Linked DNA regions of Homo sapiens: all the other regions are linked to region 3. Evidence: promoter capture Hi-C in 16 types of primary human blood cells and fetal thymus (Javierre and others, 2016). All regions are on one chromosome and are shown on one strand. The core of a region is centred on a gene start or on the middle of the fragment in contact, and the rest is flanking DNA. Distances in the headings are between cores, read along the strand shown.

Region 1 (4,025 bases), core at 1,023-3,522, 240 kb before region 3:
TGCCATAAATAGCTCCCAGACCATCTTTGGTAATATAGGCCTTTGCCTTAGTATTTACTACATCCAAATAGGCTTTATAGTAAGAGTAGTGAAACAATAGGTTTTGTTTTGTTTTTCGTTTTTTGTTTGTTTGTTTCTTTTTTGAGACGGAGTCTCACTCTGTCGTCCAGGCTAGAGTGCAATGGCACAATCTCGGCTCACTGCAACCTGCACCTCCCAGGTTCAAGCAATTCTCCTGCCTCAGCCCCCCGAGTAGCTGAGATTACAGGTGCCCACCACCATGCCCGGCCAATATTTTGTACTTTTAGTAGAGACGGGATTTGGCCATGTTGGCCAGGCTGCTCTCAAATGCCTGACCTTGTGATCCACCCGCCTTGGCCTCCCAAAGCGCTGGGATTACAGGCGTGAGCCACTGCGGCTGGCTGTGATAGAGTTTTTGAATCCTCTTTTTTTTTTTTCCCAGAGACAGGCTCTCACTCTGTTGCCCAGGCTGGAGTGCAGTGGCACAATCATAGCTCACTGCAGCCGCGACCTACTGGGCTCCAGTGAACCTCCTGCCTCAGGCTCCTGAGTAGCTGGGACTACAGCCACCATGCTCTGCTAATTTTTTTTTATTATCTAGTGTAGAGACAGGGTCTGGCTATGTTGCCCAGGCTGCTCTTGAACTCCTGGCCTCAAGCGATACTCCTGCCTCAGCCTCCCAAAGTGCCGGGATATCCGGCATGAGCCACTGCACCTGGCCAAGTTTTTAAATCTTTCAGTCACAGACTAAATAAAACAGTCACCTACAAGTTCTACAAGTTCAGCCTTTTTTTTTTTTTTTTGAGATGGAGTCTCGCTCTGTCACCCAGGCTGTAGTGCAGTGGCACGATCTTGGCTTACCACAACCTCTGCCTCCCAGGTTCAAGCGATTCTACTGCCTCAGCCTCCCAAACAGCTGGGAGTACAGGCGCCTGCCATGCTGGCCAGCTAATTTTTTTGTTTTTAATAGAAACCGGGTTTCACCATGTTGGTCAGGCTGGTCTTGAACTCCTGACCTCAGGTAATCTGCCTGGCTCGGCCTCCCAAAGTGCTGGGATTACGGCGTGAGCCACCATGCCCAGCCTAAGTTCAGCCTTTCATGCTTGTCTTGAGTTGTCCAATACTGGAAAATGCCAGCTCACACTGATGAGAAGCTCCTACTCTTTGGGGCTACCTATGAGCCCACTTTGAAATCCCGAGGTTGAAAGTCCTGAACATGAAAGATAAGCTGTCTGGCAAGTTAGGATGGGCATTGATGGAGAAATGCCTTACAGCTTGAGTAGTACTTTTTCACCTAACCACTTAAACGGTTATTATAAAATGGGACACTGAGAAATTAGAAGAGTGACTTAATCCCACCTGCTCAATTGAAGCTCCTCTGATAGGTGAATTTAATTAGGAAATTGTTACTTATGGTATCAATTACATGGTCAGCTCAAGCCTCAAATTCAGCTGACTTTAGTTTCAAAATCAACTGCAATTTTGTTTTTTAAGGAGCCTGGGGTCTTGCTATTGTGCTCCAGCCTGGCCTTGAACTCCTGGTCTCAAGGGATGCTTCCACCCCAGCTTGCTGAGTATCTGGGACTGCAGGCACGTGTCACTGTGCCCAGCTGTTTTTTTTTTTCTTCTTTGGTAGAAAAAGTGCCATTAGCTGTAATCCTACATTAAAGAGAATACTTTGACAATAGATTCGTCTCTTCCTTTAGCCCCCTCCAACCTTCCAGATAAAACCCCACCCCAAAGAACACAGGCAAAGAAGATACATCAGCCTCAATAATTTATTGCAAACTCCCTAATATCACATGCTAGTGCGCTTGCGAATTCACTCAGGAATGTTCCGGGATGGGGGCCAGAAGGTAGAGAGCACCATGAAAGTACAGCCTGCGAGGCCAGATTGCTAAGGGGCAGACTTCATGCCAATGGAGGGACAGACTTCAGGACCAGTCTGGATGGGCTAAGCTGCCTTGGGCAGGAAGGAGCTGGATCAGGCCAGGAGCTTGAGGTTCTCCTTTGGCCAACCCACCCCAGGTTTCCAGCTCCTCCTCCTCACTCAGGGTCCTGCGCGGTGAGGGAGGTGTGGGGAGGTTCGCGGCTCTACAGCTGCCAGGCTTGTGGGCACTACCAGTTAAGCGTGAGGCCCCCAGTCAGTCCTTCACTGGGGAAAGCTTCCAAGGACTTGGGCTTTCACTGCAGTATCTTCAGACAGGTCGGGATAAGGGATGAGGCCTTGCCCTTGGGGGGCTGCCCTTCCTCCGTAGCATCGAGGAGCTGCTGCAGGTAACAGGAGGTGCCAAGCAGTACGTGGCCTGTGGCCTGCATGCTGAAGAGGGCCCAGCGGAAAGCTTCCCTGGGTGGAATGAGAGGGCACGCAAGTCAAAACCACGAAGTAGGTCGGGCATGGCGTTCACGCCTGTAATCCTAGCACTTTGGGAGGCCATGGAGGGCGGGTAACCTGAGGTCAGGAGTTTGAGACTAGCATGGCCAACATGGCGAATCTCTGTCTCTACTAAAAATACAAAAACTAGGCAGGCATAGTGGTGGGTGACTGTAATCCCAGTTACTCCAGAGCCTGAGGCAGGAGAATCGCTTGAACCCAGGAGGCGGAGGTCACAGTGAGCCGAGGTGGCACCACTGCACTCCAGCCTGGGTGACAGAGCAAGATTCAGTCTCAAAAAACAATCAAACAAAAAACACAAGGCTGGGCTTGGTGGCTCATGCCTGTAATCCTATAACTTTAGGTGGCCGAGGTGGGTGGATCATTTGAGGTCAGGAGTTTGAGACCAGCCTGGCCAACATGGCGAAACCCCGTCTCTACTAAAAAATACAAAAAATTAGCCGGGCGTGGTGGCAGACACCTGTAATCTCAGCTACTCGGGAAGCTGAGGCACGAAAATCACTTGAACCTGGGAGACAGAGGTTGTAGTGAGCTGAGATTGTGCCACTGCACTCCAGCCTGGGTGACAGAGTGAGTCTCTGTCTCAAAAATAAATAAATACATAATAAATAAAAACAAGAGTGTACCCCCTCCCTGCACCCCCTTATTCCCATGCTGGCCTGGAAGGGATTGGTTTCATTATGTTTGTTTTCTTCATTAATAACATTTGAATACCACTGAGGTGGTAGCACTAAAAGCATTTCATCAATTCTAGAGCGATGTGCAAATAGGAACAGATGCTGCAGATGGGATCAAGATTAGTGCGAGGACCTGCAATTCCACCTTAACTGAGATGCCCGGAACCTCCCTACTTTCTCATGCAAAACCCCAGCTCATTTCATAAGGCTTTTATTTTTCTACTACTACTTTGGACCAACCAGATTAATCTCCATAACATGGTTCTGCACCTTGAGACACTCTGTTCTAGACTCTGAGGCCTGTCCAAGCCACCTGCAGTCTAGCTCATGTTCAGAGTGCTGGACATGAAGACATCCATGCCTGGCATGAGCATGTACTGAGAACAGAACCTGAATCAGGCAGGCCTAAGTCCTAATCCAGTCTTATTAGCTGGGTGAACTTCAGCAAACTGCTCTAGCTTTGAGCTTCAGCTTCCTCATGGGTAAAATGGGATTGCACCTGCCACCCAGGGTCATAAGGCTGAAATAGCATAAAGCAATTAACATGGGGTTGGATGTTTGGAAAGTAGGGGAAATGGGGAAGCGGGAGCGGGTTCTAACCTCACATATTCTCATGCTTCTTGAGACATTTGGTTAGACTTTCAAAAATAAGTTTTAAGAAAAGTTCATTATATAGTACAAATGACTCTGGTCCATAAGACTTGCAAATTAATTCTGTCATATGGAGGGAAGATTATTTCATCCCTCCCATTCCCACAGGGGAAAAAGCCCAATTTTGTATGTATACATTTATCTCTCTTTTTCTTCGTTTTAGAGACAAGGTCTCATGCTGTTGCCCAGGCTGGAGTACACAGTAGTATGGTCATATCTCACTGCAGCCTCAAACTCCTGGGCTCAAGCAATCCTCCCACCTAGCTGGGATTATAGGTACA
Region 2 (3,697 bases), core at 585-3,084, 180 kb before region 3:
TGCCTGCCACATAGTCGGTGTTCCTAACTAAAGGCTTGATGGATAAATTAATGTATTACCTCTAGTGCTTAGCATAGAGCTATGCACATAATAGGCACTCTTGAAATGTCTGTTGAAAGAATAAATGAATGTGTCCTTAGAACTTAGCACATTCCCCAACACATAGCAGGTGCTTACACAAGTGATTGTGGAATGAATTAAAATTAATTATCCACCAGGCACAGTGGCTCACACCTGTAATCCCAGCACTTTGGGAGGCCAAGGTGGGTGGATCACGAGGTCAGGAGTTTGAGACCAGCCTGGCCTAACATAGTGAAACCCAGTCTCTACTAAAAGTACAAAAATTAGCCAGGCATGGTGATGTGCGCCTGTAGTCCCTGCTACTTGGGAAGCTGAGGCAGGAGAATCACTTGAACCCAGGAGGCGGAGGTTGTGGTGAGCTGAGATCACACCACTGCACTCCAGCCTGGGCAACAGAGTGAGATTCCATCTCAAAAAATAAAAAAATAATAAAAATTTAATTATCCAAGGTCTCTTGTGCTTGCCATACTGCTAAGACACAATGGTAGGCACTCATTAAAAGTCTGTTGAATGGGCCAGGCGCGGTGGCTCACGCTTGTAATCCCAACACTTTGGGAGGCTGAGACGGGTGGATCACTTGAGGTCAGGAGTTCGAGACCAGCCTGATCAATGTGGTGAAACCCCATCTCTACTAAAAATACAAAAATTAACCAGTTAGCCGGCCGTTGTGGCATGTTCCTGTAATCGCAGCTCCTCAGGAGACTGAGATGGGAGAATCGCTTGAACCTGGGAGGTGGAGGTTGTAGTGAGCCAAGATTGCACCACTGCACTCCAGCCTGGGCGACAGAGCGAGACTCTATCTCAAAAAAAAAAAAAAGTTTGTTAATGAAGATGTTGCCAGTGCCCAGCATTATGTTTGCTGGAAGAATAGATGTGAGCACCTCCAGGTTTTGTAAAAGGCAGGAAGACCCAGCAAGTGTTTGTGAAATACCTGCTGAATGAGTGCATCCCCACTGTCCAGCAGAGGGCCAGGCACATGCCCATGGAGGGGACCTGAGCAGACCCCCATTTCCTTTCCAGGTGTGGCCTCTGGAACCTGACTCCGTTAGGACGAACATCTGCCCCTTCAGGGAGGGTGAGCCGACCGGCCTGGGGCTGGGGTTGGGGTGTTGCGAGCGATGGGTACCTGGCCTGCGGTGACTGTGCCCTTTCCTTGCAGACCCCCGCGCACACCAGAACCTCTGGCAAGCCGCCCGACTGCAACTGCTGACCCTGCAGAGCTGGCTGCTGGACGCACCGTGCTCGCTGCCCGCAGAAGCGGCACTGTGCTGGCGGGCTCCGGGTGGGGACCCCTGCCAGCCACTGGTCCCACCGCTTTCCTGGGAGAACGTCACTGTGGACGTAAGTGAAGCAGAGGGCACCTCCCGTGGTGAGGGGAGAGTGGGGAACCGGGGGTCCCCTTTTGTGATCCCACCCATTCCTCTCTTTCCACAGAAGGTTCTCGAGTTCCCATTGCTGAAAGGCCACCCTAACCTCTGTGTTCAGGTCAGAAAGGGGTGCATAGTGCTGGGCTGGAGGCTGGACCTGGGCAGACCCCCCAGCCAAGGGGGTCTTAGTTCTTGGGCCGCTAAAGCATAGTGGTTGCCAGCTTCCTCTATGGGAGTTCCACTGCCTACTTTAGTAGTGCGCGGGACCCTGGGCAACTCACTTCACCTCTCTGAACGTCAGTTTCCTCATCTGTTTAATGCAGATGATAATACAGTAACTACCTCATGGAGTGGTTGTGACAATGAAATAAGAGAAGTGCTTCCCCTTAGGAATCGGTACAGACTAAATGCTCCATAAATGTAGCCACTTTTATTATTGCTATCCTTATTCTATTTCCATACCTGTAGAATGGGTTGCTCTACAGTTTCAAAGGGTGATTATAAGAACATTCACTCATCCGGCCAGGCGCGGTGGCTCACGCCTGTAATCCCAGCACTTTGGGAGGCCGAGGCGGGCAGATCACGAGGTCAGGACATCAAGACCATCCTGGCTAACATGGTGAAACCCCATCTCTACTAAAAATACAAAAAATTAGCCGGTCGTGGTGGTGGGCACCTGTAGTCCCAGCTACTAGGAAGGCTGGGGCAGGAGAATGGCGTGAACCTGGGAGGCTGAGCTTGCAGTGAGCTGAGAGGGCGCCACTGCACTCCAGCCTGGGTGACAGAGTGAGACTGGGCGACAGAGTGAAACTCCGTCTCAAAAAAAAAAAAAATTCACTCATTCAAGATTTTTTGAGCAGCACAAGTCACTGTTTTAGGCACTTGTGATAGACCCTAACATCTCTACCCTCATAGAACTTATATTGTAATGGAGAAAGGCAGGCAACAGACATTGTAAATAAATCATATAGTATCTTAAAATTGCATACAAATACCATGGGAAAGGGATAAGGTGGGACTGGGGTTGCAATTTTTAGCAGGGTGGTCATGTGAGAAAGGAATCTCTTTGAGAAGGTTAGATGAGAGGGGAACCATGCTCCGTAAGACATAAAAACAGCTTTAGGGTCAGAAGACGCTTTATACAGATGATCTCACAAGGCTGGGGCAGAGAAAGATGTAGTGATTCCTAATCACCCAGCCTTGAATCCACATCTGCCTCAGGTCAGATTGAGTGCAGATTCCCAACCCAACAGGCCTTCTGTTGCCTGCCCCATTCTGGTCTTTCTGCCTTTGGCTTTTGCTTTTCTTAGTGGCCCTAACCATGGTCTCTTCCCAGCAGGTGAACAGCTCGGAGAAGCTGCAGCTGCAGGAGTGCTTGTGGGCTGGTGAGTTGGGCCTGGGGGCAGCTGGGGCAGGGCCACCTCCTAGGGGTGAAGGTCAGGGCATGGGAGGCAGGCAAGTGGCCAATCCCAGCAAGGATGGGTCTTGGTCAGAGTGGCCTCTCACCCCTTCCAGACTCCCTGGGGCCTCTCAAAGACGATGTGCTACTGTTGGAGACACGAGGCCCCCAGGACAACAGATCCCTCTGTGCCTTGGAACCCAGTGGCTGTACTTCACTACCCAGCAAAGCCTCCACGGTTAGGACTGGGCGACCCTCCTCCACAGATCTCTCCAAATGCATCTCACATCTGGCCTCAAATTTTCACTCCATCCACCCTGTGCCGGTCTCTGGGAACATGGGGGGTGACTCAGACCAGGGCCATATTCAGCGGCATCACCAAAGTCTCCCAGTCCCCTCTACCTCATTCTACCCAGCTGTAGCCTGGTAGGTGCTGCCCTAAGGGTGCTACCTCCAGGTAACAGTGCCCCCATCCTTTGGCTTGGCAGAGGGCAGCTCGCCTTGGAGAGTACTTACTACAAGACCTGCAGTCAGGCCAGTGTCTGCAGGTGAGCTGGTGGAAGAAGGGCCCCACCTCAATGCCTAGGGGCAACAGGCCTAAAACTAGCACTCACCTACTGTCTATTTAGGCTTATTTTATGTTCAGCCCTGGGAAAGTTAAGAGTAGAAGAAGCACAGTTCCTATCCCCAAGGAGCACACTGTTGGCTAGACACCCATAAACAGATAACCACACCTACAGGTGCTAAGTTTTGGGTTCCAGGGAGAGCTTCCGGGAAGAATTTCTTCCTATAAGCCAGATTTGGTATGGAAGAAGTCATACCCTAGTCAGTGGGCACAGCACAAAGGCAG
Region 3 (3,830 bases), core at 1,097-3,596:
CAGACCAACAGGAACAAACTCCACGTGGGACCCAGCAATCTGCATTTATATAAGCCCTCTTGCATTGTCTATTTTGAGAATTTCTTATGCTATTCCTTTCAAACAACTCTAGCTTTCACTATTCATTACTGAGATCATCTCCTGGCCCCAAAGGCCTCTGCATTTTCTAGCACAAGGGAGCAACTTGCAGACCCCTGGGTTATTTATATACCACCTCAGAGGAGCTACACCAGGCTGGGAGAAAACACTTCCAAAGTCCAGTCAAAAAACTGTTAAAGATTTTTGTTTTTCTAGGTGTGGGTGTGGTTTTAAATTTGTTTTTCTGATTTGTTTGTTTTCCATCTATGGAAGACCTACTGGTTCCATAAGACCTTAATTTTCTTTTTCCTTTGAAGATTAAAAAGGGCTGTGAGGATATTGCTAACTGAAAATTTATGCAAGTAAAATTAGAATTTTCCATCATTCTCCTTCAACATTGCCAGTATATAAGAAGTTTTACTAAATTCAGAAGCTAATTTTTTTTAGCACGTACCTATTTTGTTAGTGGGCATAGCAGGTCCCTTTTCTTTCTAGCCAAGTGTATTTCTCTGCCCCTTCTTCTCCCACAGAAGATAGCAGCAGATCTCATCCTATCCAGTAATTGCCCCAGAAATACTGTGAAAATTTTGACACCTTCACCGCCGTTTGTGAGATAGAAAAGTTCGTTTTAAAAAAAGAACTGTTGGCCGGGCACAGTGGCTCACACCTGTAATCCCAGCACTTTGGGAGGCCGAGGTGGGTGGATCACTTGAGGTCAGGAGTTCAAGACCAGCCTGGCCAACAGGGTGAAACCCCGTCTCTACTAAAAATACAAAAATTAGCCAGGCGTGGTGGTGGGTGCCTGTAATCCCGGGTACTCAGGAGGCCGAAGCAGGAGAATCACTTGAATGGAGGCTGCGGTGAGCCGGGATCAAGCCATTGAACTCCAGCTTGGGTGACAGAGGGAGACTCCGTCTCAAAAAAGAAAAAAACGTTGGTGACATTTCAGACCAGAAGACCTGCTCCTGACAATGGTTAGTATAGGGGGATTTGTTGATTTTCTCCAACTAGTATGTTTCTCATGATCTATGTAGGCTCTTTGCAAAGTACTAAGTGTTCAAATATCTGGGCTGCCTTAGAATGAGAAAGGGACACCCAAGGGACAGTTATCTATTCCAAACACCCTGTGAAAGGCTTCTGGTGCTTGATATCTTGACCTTCAGAGCACATATCCAAGAGAGGGACTACTGTGGTACACCACCATGGCAAGGTGGGCGGAGGGTATGAATGCTGTCAAGCATATTTTTAATCCCAGAATATGGGATTTAAAAAAGTATTTAATCCCAGGATCCTTTTCTTTCTTTCTTTCTTTTTTTTTTGAGACAGAGCCTTGCTCTGTCACTCAGTCTGGAGTGCAGTGGCGCGATCTCCGCTCACTGCAAGCTCCGCCTCCCGGGTTCACGCCATTCTCCTGCCTCAGCCTCCCGTAGCTGGGACTACAGGCGCCTGCCACCACGCCCGGCTAATTTTTTTGTATTTTCAGTAGAGACAGGGTTTCACCGTGTTAGCCAGGATGGTCTCGATCTCCTGACCTCGTGATCCGCCCGTCTCGGCCTCCCAAAGTGCTGGGATTACAGGCGTGAGCCACCGGGCCCGGGCCCCCCGGATCCTTTTCTTGCCACATCTTCTAAGAGGAAGTAGAGGTAGAAGTAAAAGTCTTTGTCAAATGTCCAGCCTAGGTCGCGGCGCGGTGGCTCAGGCCTGCAATCACAGCACTTTGGGAGGCCAAGGCGGGCCAATCACTTGAGGTCAGGAGTCAGCCTAAATATTCGGCAGAACCAACATGGGACGAGAGCGCTTCTAAACCTAGGTCCCTGCACCTCTTCGCACAAAGTTTAAAGATGGTTCACCCCATCCCCACCGCCCAGAAGTCACTGTCAACCACTCCAGAAGGGCTTGAACCTACAAAGTCTGCTCAAGCTGCTCAATAGCTCCCAGATATGGAACACCTGATTCTCCTGGCCAAAAAGGTTTCCCCTTCACACCCCACTTCCCATTCCAAGGAACCCCATCTCTTGATTTCCCCACCTGGGAAACAGGGCGTTAGCGCCAAAGTGCAGCTGAGGTCCTGAACTGTAAACGGAGATCCCGAGGGTCTGGAGCTGCCGAGAGTGCGAGAGGCTCCCACTCCCCGCCGGAAGAAGGGGCTTGGGCCTCCTGGGTCCCTATCCGGGGGCGGGGACCAGAAGGTTCTGGCTGAGGCGGACGATGCGGTGGGAACCTGGGCCCAGTCCCACCATCCGGGCCCGGGGCTCACCTGCTGAACTCTGAGGGTCTCACGCTCCAAAGTGGCGGCCGCTGTTCGTGGCGCCTGGCAACCGCCTTTGTGACCCAGGACGGCAGGGCAGCCCGAGCCGCGGCGGGGATGGGGGCTCGAGGCGCCCTACTGGGAGGCGTCAGGGCCACACTCCCCGCCCCCACCTCATTGGAATGCCTTGTCCAGGACTTGGCCTTCAGGAGGGCTGGTCCGAATCCTGTCCCCTCCATTGTCCTCCTCCCTACCGTGCCACACCTGTGTACCTGTGTGCCTTTGATCAAGCCACAGAGGACAGGCGACCCCTACTTCAATGGCCATGGTCAGAGGCCTGCATAAAAGTCCCAGGACCTGTAGTTAGTGTTAAAAGTTAGTCCCAACTCATCACACTCTGCTCAGTGGGTGCTCAGGCAGAGTGACCCAGAGCTCTGTCAGGTTTTGTTGCTCTATTTGAATGATCCCAGTGGCAAAGAAAGAGAATTAATAAATGTTCACCTGTCAAGAGCAGGAGGAAACGCACGTCTTTCCTTGATTTCCTGACAGAAAACCTTTCTCAGCCTTGCGTTAAACCTGAGAGTACCTGTAATCCCAGCTATCTAGGTGGCTGAGATGGGTAGACTGCTTGAGCCCAGGAGTTCAAGACCAGTCTGGGCAACGTAGTGAGATTCCCAGCTCAAAAAGAAAACAAAAAAATCTCAAAAAGAATGATTTTGTCTCATTCTTATAATGCAGAAATACACTTTCGCCATATTAGTGAAGGAGTGATTTGACAACTTTGTAATCATCACTTAAAATAATGACCCTGGATGGCTGAGGGAAGGGAGGAGTCTACCCAGCTGATGTCTGTATTCCCAGTACCTGGCTATTGCCATGTCTGGCAGTGTGCAGTATTTGTGGGAGGAAGTAACTAATGGCCTACTTGGCCTTCCCTTGTACACCCAGAATTGCCCTTGCATTTTACAAACTATAGAACACACACCACAAATAAGACTTGTCACCTTTGTTCTGGTTTTTTGGGTAAAGCTGATGGAGAAAGACTGAGGGTCTGAGAATAGAGTCAGGCAAGATCCTGATTTAGAAGACACACACCCACTGTGTGTACATGTGCACCTTTTGGAAGAAGAGGTAAGTGGAGAAGAGTCTGGAGGGCATGTCGGGTCAGAACATGAAGAGAGAGGCACAGAATAGTGAGACTTGGAAGAGACACAAATGATTTTGAATTACAAAACTTTTTTCCCCAGTTAGTTCATTTTTATTTCCCTCTTTTTTTTTCTTTCTTTTTTTGAGACGGAGTCTCACCGTGTCACCCAGGCTGGAGTGCAGTGGCTTGATCTTGGGTCACTGCAACCTTCACCTCCTGGGTTCAAGCGATTCTCCTGTCTCAGCCTCCCGAGTAGCTGGGATTACAGGCGCGTGCCACCAGGCCCAGCTAATTTTTGTGTTTTTAGTAGAGACGGGGTTTCCCATGTTGGCCAGGCAGGTCTCGAACTCCTGACCT
Region 4 (2,888 bases), core at 1-2,500, 200 kb before region 3:
TGCCAGGTAGGGACACCTGCCTGGCACAGCCATAAAGCTCCCCACTCCCCTGCCTGCCCTGTGCTACCTCCGCAGTCCCTGTGCTCTGGTGGCAGCTTTGATGTGTCCTCTACCTAGTCTCAAAGGGGTAGCCAAGGTCCTTTGTGCTGAGGGCCTGGACAGGGTGGAGCTGGGAAGATAAGAGCCAGAAGGTATGGGCTATTAGCTATGGGGCTCAGAATTTGCTGATTTGAAGCAAAGACCCCAGGAATGTGCCTTATGGGAGTCTCTCCTAATAATAGCTCTTTCCTTTCTTTTCCCTACTGGGCCCTGTGCCTCAGGATGACAGTTTCACTGGTGAGTCGCATTTCCTGCCCCATTGCTCCTCCCCACGCCCACTATTTTTGCAGATGCCTAGCAAGCCCTCCATTCTAATTTTCAGTTCCCAACCCGGGAAGTAGCACAATATCAAGGAAAAATTTGGAATCATGACAAGCCTGGGTTCACATTGCAGTTCTGCCAGACTCCCGTGTGGCCTCAGACTGTGCACCTAACCCCTCCAACTGACCCTCAGTTTCTGAGGGGTAGTAGCATAGTAGAAATGATTGTACACTAAAGGCAGTGTTGCTTCTGATCTGTAGAGAGGATTAGATGAGAAACATGAGTAAATCTCCAGGTTCTCCATATATGTTGGCTCCTCCCCTTAACTGATCCCTCACTTCTATCAGTAATACAACAATAATCCTTCCTATTTTATGGTATGTTCTACTTCACAAGACATTTTCCCATACACTACAATTTTGATTTTTATAACAGACCCGCTTTATGAATGAGGAATCTGATCCTTAGACAGGTCCTGTAACCCCCAAAGTCATACTTCCAGGATGTGACAGAGCTTGGCCTCAAATCCAGCTTGTTGGAGGTAGGAGGGACCTTCTTAGACCCTATCATTTGCTTTCCCTTCCATCTTTCCCAGGAAGTTCTGCCTATATCCCTTGCCGCACCTGGTGGGCCCTCTTCTCCACAAAGCCTTGGTGTGTGCGAGTCTGGCACTGTTCCCGCTGTTTGTGCCAGCATCTGCTGTCAGGTGGCTCAGGTATGAGAAACAGCCCCTTGGGCCATTCTCAGTGAAGAGAACATTTTGAGGGACCACCTAGGCTGAGCAAGTGGGACTTACTAGAACAGATATTTGTCTTGTTTTAACCTCAACTGGGACTTGGATTATCCTAAAATAGCACGCTATGACTGATATTCACAAATACAATTGTACAATTTTATGAAGGTTTTTTTTCAGCTGAGATTCTTGGAATTAAAAGCTATGGATTTATTGTTATTACCATCTATTTGTAGAGCAGGATCTTCTTTCTTACTCTATATTTTAATTGCTCAGCTCAGTGCCTGGTACATACTAAATGCCCTTACATTGCTTAAGAATTGGCAGTTTCTAGGCCAGGCGCGGTGGCTCACGCCTGTAATCCCAACACTTTGGGAGGCTGAAGCAGCCTGATCACCTGAGGTCAGGAATTCGAGACCAGTCTGGACAACATTGTGAAACCCCTGTCTCCACTAAAAATACAAAAAATTAGCAGGGCCTGGTGGCAGGCACCTGTAATCCCAGCTGCTCAGGAGGCTGAGGCAGGAAAATCACTTGAACCCAGGAGGTGGAGGTTGCAGTGAGCCGACATCATGCCATTGCACTCCAGCCTGGGCGACAAGAGCAAAACTCCATCTCCAAAAAAAGAATTGGCAGTTTCTGGGCCAGGTATGATGGTTCACACCTGTAATCCCAGCACTCTGGGAGGCCAAGGTGGGTGGATCGCTTGAGTCCTGGAGTTTGAGACCAGCCTGGCCAACATGGCCAAACCCCATCTCTACAAAAAAATACAAAAATTAGCTGGATGTGGTAGTGCACACCTGAAGTCCCAGCTACTTGGGAAGCTGAGGTGGGAGGATCACCTGAATTCAGGAGGTGGAGGTTGCAGTGAGTTAAGATAGCGCCACTGCACTCCAGCCTGGATGACAGTGTGAGACCCTGTCTCAAAAAAAAAAAAAAAAAAAAAAAAAGAATAGGCAGTGTTTAATTTTTCTAATTGTTTGTTGTTAGAAATAATGCTACAGGGCTGGGCACAGTGGCTTATGCCGGTAATCCCAGTACTTTGGGAGGCTGAGGCGGGCAGATCACCTGAGGTCAGGAGTTTGAGACCAGCCTGGCCAACATGGTGAAACCCCGTCTCTACTAAAAATACAAAAATTAGCCAGGTGTGATGGTGCATGCCTGTAATCCCAGCTACTCAGGAGGCTGAGGTGAGAGGATTGCTTAAGCCCAAGAGTTCAAGACTGCAGTGAGCAGTGATTGTGCCACTGCACTCCAGCCTCCATGACAGAGCAAAATCCTGTCAAGAAAGGAAGGAAGGAAGGAAGGAACGAAGGAAGGAAGGAACAAAGGAAGGAATGAAGGAAAGAAAGAAAAGAGAGAGAGGCAGGGACTGGCGTGGTGGCTCACGCCTGTAATCCCAGCACTTTGGGAGGCTGAGGTGGGCAGATCTTGAGATCAGGAGATCGAGACCATCCTGGCTAACATGGTGAAACCCCGTCTCTACTAAAAGTACAAAAAATTAGCTGGGCGTGGTGGCAGGCGTCTGTAGTCCCAGCTACTCTGGGGGCTGAGGCAGGAGAATCGCTTGAAGCCAGGAGGCGGAGATTGCAGTGAGCCAAGATCGCGCCGCTGCACTCCAGCCTGCGTGACAGAGCAAGGCTCCGTCTCCAAAAAATAAAAATTAAAGAATGCTAAAATGAATATCTTTGTATATATAGCTTTTTCTCTGCTTAAGAAATTAATCTTTTCTTGATTGCTTTATAATTTTCAAGATTAAAGAAGCTTGACATCCTTACCCTCCTTGATTTAAAAC

The links. Contacts are between HindIII fragments. The CHiCAGO score rates a contact against its expected background, and 5 or more counts as called.
Region 1: a fragment that was not itself captured here is called in contact with the fragment with the promoter of FANCD2OS in region 3 in 1 of 17 cell types (activated CD4 T cells); the score reaches 6.9 in activated CD4 T cells.
Region 2: a contact is called between a fragment that was not itself captured here and the fragment with the promoter of FANCD2OS in region 3, in 1 of 17 cell types (total CD8 T cells). The highest score is 5.3, in total CD8 T cells.
Region 4: a fragment that was not itself captured here is called in contact with the fragment with the promoter of FANCD2OS in region 3 in 1 of 17 cell types (activated CD4 T cells); the score reaches 7.0 in activated CD4 T cells.

Annotation. Positions count from the first base shown.
Region 1 is chr3:9,864,929-9,868,953 of GRCh38, forward strand. CIDEC (cell death inducing DFFA like effector c) reads right to left here. Exons shown (of 7, transcript NM_001321142.2): 7 at 1,786-2,368. The coding sequence ends at 2,206. Among named protein-coding and RNA genes, the nearest start is that of CIDEC, 13 kb to the right of the region's middle. The HindIII fragment of the contact is 177 bases long and covers 2,185-2,361 here.
Region 2 is chr3:9,927,065-9,930,761 of GRCh38, forward strand. It overlaps IL17RC (interleukin 17 receptor C), which reads left to right. Exons shown (of 19, transcript NM_153460.4): 10 at 1,102-1,156; 11 at 1,241-1,422; 12 at 1,516-1,566; 13 at 2,788-2,833; 14 at 2,964-3,085; 15 at 3,336-3,395. Among named protein-coding and RNA genes, the nearest start is that of CRELD1, 4.9 kb to the right of the region's middle. RefSeq lists an enhancer at 1,299-1,798. The HindIII fragment of the contact is 6,275 bases long and covers 1-3,697 here.
Region 3 is chr3:10,105,909-10,109,738 of GRCh38, forward strand. FANCD2OS (FANCD2 opposite strand) reads right to left here and starts at 2,347. Exons shown (of 2, transcript NM_001164839.2): 1 at 2,107-2,347. The HindIII fragment of the contact is 5,627 bases long and covers 1-3,830 here.
Region 4 is chr3:9,903,077-9,905,964 of GRCh38, forward strand. IL17RE (interleukin 17 receptor E) reads left to right here. Exons shown (of 16, transcript NM_153480.2): 2 at 321-336; 3 at 956-1,075. Among named protein-coding and RNA genes, the nearest start is that of IL17RE, 1.7 kb to the left of the region's middle. RefSeq lists an enhancer at 1-645. The HindIII fragment of the contact is 3,209 bases long and covers 1-2,855 here.